Regions from separate parts of the Homo sapiens genome. Here region 2 is linked to region 1. Evidence: promoter capture Hi-C in 16 types of primary human blood cells and fetal thymus (Javierre and others, 2016). All regions are on one chromosome and are shown on one strand. Each heading gives the region's core, a stretch centred on a gene start or on the middle of the fragment in contact. The rest is flanking DNA. Distances are from core to core; before and after follow the strand shown. Region 1 holds the start of KNDC1 (kinase non-catalytic C-lobe domain containing 1). Region 2 overlaps CFAP46 (cilia and flagella associated protein 46).

The links. Contacts are between HindIII fragments. The CHiCAGO score rates a contact against its expected background, and 5 or more counts as called.
Region 2: a fragment that was not itself captured here is called in contact with the fragment with the promoter of KNDC1 in region 1 in 2 of 17 cell types (M1 macrophages and M0 macrophages); the score reaches 5.5 in M1 macrophages.

What each region holds. Positions count from the first base shown.
Region 1 is chr10:133,158,345-133,161,943 of GRCh38, reverse strand. KNDC1 (kinase non-catalytic C-lobe domain containing 1) reads right to left here and starts at 1,725. Exons shown (of 30, transcript NM_152643.8): 1 at 1,375-1,725. The coding sequence starts at 1,476. RefSeq lists enhancers at 174-764, 765-1,354. The HindIII fragment of the contact is 2,500 bases long and covers 236-2,735 here.
Region 2 is chr10:132,926,173-132,929,771 of GRCh38, reverse strand. It overlaps CFAP46 (cilia and flagella associated protein 46), which reads left to right. Exons shown (of 58, transcript NM_001200049.3): 9 at 1-67; 10 at 3,106-3,204. Among named protein-coding and RNA genes, the nearest start is that of CFAP46, 15 kb to the left of the region's middle. The HindIII fragment of the contact is 2,219 bases long and covers 901-3,119 here.

The DNA of each region.
Region 1 (3,599 bases), core at 476-2,975:
CCAAGTGGGCTCGCGCCTGGCGCGGCGTGTTGTGTGCGTGGCACCGGCTGCTGCCTCCGTGTGCGGAGCGGGGAGGCCCTCAAGGCTCAGGCCTCTGATGCACGAAGGAGCTGTGGGAAGAGCTGCGTCCTCAGGGCCGCCTCCTAACAGATACCCTGGGATGTGTCCTGGGGCGTTTCTGAAGGCTGCGGGCTGCCCCTCCCTCTCGGTCAGAGCCGAGGTGATCTTGGAAGCTTTATTGCCTCCCCTGGCTGCTCCTCTCTGCAGCCTTCAACTGCACCGAATCCAGGCCATGGTGGGGGCGGGGGCATCGCCAACCCCCGCACAGCCTCAGCTGTTTCTAGGTGGCTGGGCCGAGGGCCTCCTGGGGCTGAACCTTCCCAGAAGGACGGTGCTTCCACAGCAGAAACTCCCGGTCCCTTCAGAGCCCACTCCCCTGGGGCAGCAGGTGGGGACTGCGAGGGGGTCAGGCCCGCGGCTGCTGCAGCCGGGATTCCCTGCTCCAGGCTTACTTGGCCGGCTTTAAAGAGAGGGCGCCACAACATCCCACTAATGGCTGCAGGTGACGACGCTGTCACCCGGAGACGCAGGCGCCCAGCGTCTGGGCTCTTGCCTGTTGGAGGTTTGGCAGATCTCGGATCCCTGGAGGGTGAGGGTCCCTCTGGGAGCTGCTGTATCCCCTGGGGGCCACCTCTCATGCTTCCGGGCCTGGCTTGTCCACTCCATCCCAGCCAAGCCAGAGCTGAGCTACAGGGTCAGACCCAGCCAAGGTGGCGTCTGGGCAGCCGGTGCTGTAGGGTGGGCGGTCCATGAGCAGAAGCGCCAGGGTATGCAGATGGCAGGCAGAGCCCCTCTGCACCTTGCGGGGTAGGGGGGTCTTGGGTGAAGGCCCGGAAAACCAGAGAGCAGGAAGCAGCTCTCAGTCTCGGGGGGCAGTCATCCAGCGCTCCCCCCACCCCCCGCTCCTGAACCTCAGCTCCGGGGACCTCATCCCCCAGCTCCTGAGCGGCGCCTGATTGGACTCTGCTGCTCTGCACCCCGCTGGCCTCCTGGGGCCCGGCAGGGAGTAAGCAGACCCCCCTCCGTCCTCCTTGCTGCCCCCACACTGTCCCGCCAGGGTTTCCACCAGGAGCTACCGCGCACCAACTTCTGCAGGGGCTGCCCACCCGCCGCCGTCCCGTGCGCATTCGGGGGTGCTGTCCCCTCCGGGTGAAAATCCTAACGCGGGGGCTGAGAACGGCGGTGGGAACCCCTCGGCCATGGAGGGCGCCTGGGGAGGCGGGAGCTCACAGCCCCTCCCGGGTCCTCCCCCCGGGCGCTCTCCGCGGACCCCTCGGCGGCGGAAGGGGCCCCCCAGTGGGGCCGGGGGCTCACCTCGTCCTCGGGGAGGGTGGGCAGCGGCTCGAAGTCGTAGAAGTCCAGGTCTTTGCCGTCCTCCTCGTAAAGATCCGCCGCGGCCGGGTCCATGGCCTGCATCCTGCGGCCGCGCCGCGCACCGCCCCCGGGGCCTCCGGCTGGGCTGGGCTGGGCTCGGCTACGCGCGCCCTGGCTCCATGGAGACGCGCCCGGCCCTCGCCCGCCCCCGCCCGCCCGCCGCTGCCGCAGTGTCTCCAGGGGACGCGGTCAGGGATACGGGGCGGGCCCGGGGGGCGCGGGGGGCGCGGGGTGCGCGGGGGCTGCGCGGCGCTGTCCGGACCCGGCGCCTAGGGAACGTCGCTCCTTCCTGGGGGAGGCACCGGGGGCGGAGCCAGGCGTGTGGCCTCCGCGGGGAGCCACGGGGTCTGCGCCCCACCTGGGCCCCAAGGGTCGAGGGGCGGAGCCGGCGCCCAGGAAAGCTCGGACGGGCAGACCCCCTCGCCGGCTCCCGCCGCCCCCGTCCCACCCCCGCTGCTGCCGGGCGGGGCTGCCGCAGTCCCGGGGTGGCCTCTGCAGCGGCGTTGGGCAGGGCCGGGCGGGGCCCGGGGTGGGGGGCGGGGCCCGGGGTGGGGGGCGGGGCGGTCGCTGGGCCGGGGTCTCTCCTGAGCGAGGGTCTTTCGGAGGCCCGGGGATGTTGGGGGTGGGGCAATAACGCTGCCTCATCCCCACCTGGAGGCATCGGAGAGACCCACTGGGCACCCGACCCTCCCCGGTCCTGGGGGACCCTGGGGGGTCCTGGGGCTCTTGACCTCTTCCTGCCCCAAAGGCCCCCCGGGGCTTTCTTCAGCGCCAGGGTGACCCCGGCCCACGGTAGTGCCGCGGTCAGAAGAGCCAGGATAGCCCCAAGCTCGGCCAAGAGGCAGGGAGGGTGGAGGAGAATCTCACCTTCCCCGGCCACCCCCAGAACTCCCACAGGAGAGAGGGCGGCTTCAGGGCCCGGCTGTCAGCTCCCCGTCCGTGTGGCTGGCCAGGCACACAGTAGGTACTTAATCCATGCTCCTGGCTTGAAGGAGCAGCAGGGCTTTTGACCGCAGAGTGGGAGGGTGCAGTGTGTTCAGGGACGTGAATTCCCAGCACTCTGTCCCCTGGTCGGTCACCCGGGCTGTCACTCTGGCCTGGCAGGGAGTTCAGGGGCTCAGCTCCCCGGGAGCCAGGTGGGCACTGAAGCCGGAGGCTGGGAGTGGGGCAGGTGCTGGGCAGACTCCCTGCGTCCAGCCAGGCAGCCCCACCTTATTGAAAATGCCCACCCTGGGGCCCACCCTGGTCCACCGAGTCAGCAGTCAGGTGCAGCCTCCCCCATCCTTGGGTGTTTGGAAGCTTGGGCAGCAAGCCAAGGTGGAGTGGGCTGGAGCTGGAGAGGAGGAGTCTCACAGAGGGTGGCCTCAGCCAGCTGTCCCTGAGCTCTCTCTCTGTGGGCCCCACAGGGCCTGCAGCGCCCCAGTCCCTGTCTTGGAAGGAGGCGGAAGTGGCAGGCAGACTCTGCTCCAGGAGCCTGATCCCGCTGCACCCTGGTGCTCAGACCTGGACATTGGAGCTGAGCCCCTGGGCTCCTGGGCCCTCTGCTGCAGGGCTGGGGCCGCCTCCTTTGTCAGGTCTGGATGTGCCCCTGACGCCTCTCAGCTGCCACCCAGACTTGTGCCTCCGGGGGAACGCCGGGCTGACGTGACCCCAAAGGGAAGGCACCAGGGACCCCACAAGCACAGGACTTTGTCACCGAGTGCCCAGGTCACCTCACGGGCTTGGGGTGAGGATATAGACACTGAATAGGGGGCAAAGGTAACCCCATAATTTGGGGGGCAGCCATAGGGCAAGCACTCCTGGAAAGACGTGCATGCGGTTGGTAAAATGCAGAACTCACAGGCTCCTGGAGTCGGCCGTGTCAGCTTCGGCTGTTGCGGCCTAAAACCCCTCAGCAGGCATTTCCCACACCTGGGTCACTCAGCGCTGCTGCTGCTCAGGGCTGGGCACGTGGGGAGGGGCCTCGGGCAGGGGCCGCAGGCTCTTTCTTTTACGCACCTGCTGCTTTCCTTTAAAGATTTGTGGGCTTTGGTCTCTGTTGTTCTGGGGAGTGGTGGGAACTTCCAGACGTTTTGCGAGTTGTCCCGGGCGCCCGCACACTCGCCTGCAGTGATAAAGCTTTGACCCAAGTGGAGGGTGCGATGTCGGTCCTGTGTCCTGGCACC
Region 2 (3,599 bases), core at 761-3,260, 230 kb after region 1:
CTTGACCTTGAAATGCATGGAGATCTCCTCTGCCTGCCTCTCAGACCTGAAGAAGATGGAAAGCAAAGTAAGTGGCTTCATGACACTGCTGCCTGGGGATGAGGCGCTGCTCACCGTGCAGTTGGACAAAAGGCAAAGAAAGGAAGAGCAGTTCACCAGGCCACGGCCCCCAGGGCTTCGGTCCGTGGTTGGCACATTGCCGTCTTTCCTACCTGTGTTTTGCACAGTTGCAGTTAGATGGTGTTTGCAATTTTACACCTGCCCGTTTCTCTTTACCTTTCTTGTGGCCACGGGTCCACAGCACCACAGTTGTTTCTAGAGTCCAATTTACGGACGGCGTAAAATTTCATGATGCTGATGATCCAGAACATCCTCCACCAGTCCCATTATTGGACGTGTAAATCACACCGGCAGTGCCTCGTTACCCGCAGTTCACTTTCTGCAGTTTGTTACCTGCAGACAGCTACAGTATGAAAATATTAAGCTATTCTGAGGGAGAGGCCACAGCCACATCACTTCTGTTACAGTATAGTGTTATGATTGTATCTTATTATTAGTTATTGTTATAAATATCTTATTGTGCCTAATTTAGAAATTGAAGTTTATCGTAGGGATTTCCGTCTAGAAAAATCACAGTATAATCGGGTTTCGGACTACTCCACGTTTCAGGCCTCCACTGGGTTGGGGGGTCTTGAAACGTATCCTCTCAGAGAAGGGGGGGCTACCGTATAATTTTTTGCTTATTACATAAAGGGCTGCAGTGAACATTTTGTGCCTAAAACATTTTTCTGCGTTTAGGATTTTTCCCTAAGATGAGTATATTTACATGAAATGACTAGGGAATTTTCACTTTTAATATTTTAAGAATACACGTTAGAGTATTGCCCTCCAGAAGAAGCTTCACACAACGACAAGTGTGTAAGACTGCATACATCAGGTTTGCCGATGCTTTCAGGAACTGTGACAGGCTCTTCCACAGAGCAGGGAAAATGTGATCAGTTTATCAGGGATGGTTTTGAGCAAACTGAGTGTCGCTTTACACACAGAGAGTGAAGAAGGGGGACCCTCGGATGCACAGCCACATGCTGGGGCCTCCCTGTGTGCTGTCTTCATTGAGCACTTGCTGTGTGCTTTGCCCAGGTTACCTAAGAGTGAACGTAAACCAACCATCAGTGGCGCAGGAGACACGGCCATGGCTCAGCACGGGGGGAGCCGTCCAGTCACGCTGAGGGCTGTGCTGATCTGGAAATGGTTTCAGAATAGGAGATGCAGTTCACGTGGCCTTGACAGCCAGGCAGCCCTTGGAGGGACCGCCCACCAGGGTGCAGGTGGGAAGCGTGGTCAAGGCTGGAAACAGCAGCCCATGCCGCACGGAGGATGGGAGCAGCGTGGGAGGCTCCTGTGTTTGATGCCCTTTACCGGCTTCTGTGGGCCCCATTTCCATCTTCTGGGTTTTCACGGCACGGTGTCCCCAATTCAGAATGACTATGGAACGCCTGGGTCCGGCCCCACTTCCTCCTTCCCAGCAGCCCTTCCTTCAGCTCCCTGTGCCTCAGGGCTTGTCCCTGCAAAATGGCAGCAGTAACAGGACCCATCTCCAAGGGCTGCTGTGGAACTGAGAGCAATGTTTTGTGTATCCCAGGTTGAGGCTCTCGGGTGGGCCCCTGCTGACGTGGGGTCGCTGTTAGGGAGGCTCCTGTGGCCCAACTCTGCCCCCACCGCCCGTGGCCCCTGCACAGCATGTTCCTCTGCCCCGGCTTGAGGACACTGTCCTGGCCCTTTGCCCGGTTGGCCTCTGCCCATCCCTCAGGCCCCAGCCCTCCTGTTACCTCCTGACCACTGGTCGAAAGCGACCTTCTCTAGGTAAACATTCTACCAGGAGGCTCATTATCCCCGCCAGCCTACTGTTAGACATTCAGGATCTCACGAGATTTATTTTAAATTAAAAGCTCACTAATGTTAAGGATATGAATAGTTTTTAATTTTGAAGCCTTGGTGCATTTTTAAAGACTATCCACTGTAATACATTTCACAATTGCCTGAGTGAATGGTGGAAATGATTTAACCAGGCAGACACCTGGACTTGTGGGACCACATAAAGAGTTTTAAGATCCGTGAACGTGTGGGAAGCACGGAACGCTTTTTCTGACCTCTGTGAAGCCTGGCATGGCTTCCTTAGTGGCATGGAGGCTTGCAGCCGCTGGACAGGCCGGGGCACACAGCCTGGGGTGGTGGCCTCCTGCGCTCTCCATCCTGGCCGGCACCGAGGCCCAGACATGCAGGACTGCGGTGCAGCCATCCCGAGGTGCTGCGGGTACTTCCCGTGCTTGTGGACGTCTGCCGCCGAGGACCTGCTCCCCGGGACGGAGGCGTCTGCCGCCGAGGACCTGCTCCCCGGGACGGAGGCGTCTGCCGCCGAGGACCTGCTCCCCGGGACGGAGGCGTCTGCCGCCGAGGACCTGCTCCCCGGGACGTCTGTGTCTGATAGTTGTGAAGATGCTTCACCATCATCAGCGCCTGCGCTCACAGACTAGGAGCTTGAGTCTCCTGTGTCCAGAAGACCTGCACCCCTCACGCCAGGGCGGGTTTAGGGGTGTCACCCCTCGAGCGGGGTGGGTTTAGTGGTCTTTGGATGACAGCCACACGTTGCTCCCCAGCTTTTGTAAGGCCACCGAGGCCTGGGAACATCTTCCCCGAGCTCAGCAAGCCCCCAAGAAAGGAGAGGTAGAGTGCCCTTCTTCCCGGTGTGACGTACAACACATTGCTTCCCAGACTTCAGCGCAGCCCCGGGCCGCCAAGCAGCCTGGCTGAGGCCTGGGTACCAGGTGTTGGGGGCCGGGACAAGGCCCCTGAAAAGGGCAAACTCAGGACCCTCCCGTGCCGCTCTCAGGTGGTGGGGCCCGCAGGCAGACAAGGAGTTGGTGTAGCTGAAAACACGGCTTCCTCACTTAAACCTCTGCGTCATAGGTGTCTTTGTGTCATCGTGTGACTTGTATTTGTTAAACCTCTACCCAGTAATATTTTAAATGCCTTTGAATTTCATGAATGTACACAGCTGCTTCCCTTACAGATCTCCATCTTTTCAAAAACTGTTTATATCTGCAGGATCCTGGGAAGCTTATTGAAATGGAATGTCTGGAGTGTGAATCGGAAGCTTTAAGACTTGAAAGTAAGATGAAAGTGTACAACCGAGCGGCTGTTGAGGTCAGTCCTTACGCAGGAGTCATACACCTGGCATTATTTTGCAGATTCCTGGAGCTTGGTGCAAGTTGAGTGTGTCCCAGGCTTGAGGGTGCTGGGGACATGGCCTGGACCCCACTGCTAGACTCGCCCTGGCTCCCGTGACAGCGGGTGTGAGTCCAGCCTCCAGTGCCACACTCCCTGTCCTGCGCACAGGGGCCTACACGCCGCCCTGGTGGGGTGGGGTCGTGCAGGTGGGGGCTGGGATGCGACTCCCTCTGACCCTCCTCCTGCAGCCCCCACGGAGCTGCCCCCTCCCCGCCGTGTGGTGATGCCTGCCTGGGAGGACGGGGGACGGCCACGCGTCCCATGAGGGCTTTCTGCCAGCCTCACTTGAGTCCGGGAAGGCGTCCTAATGA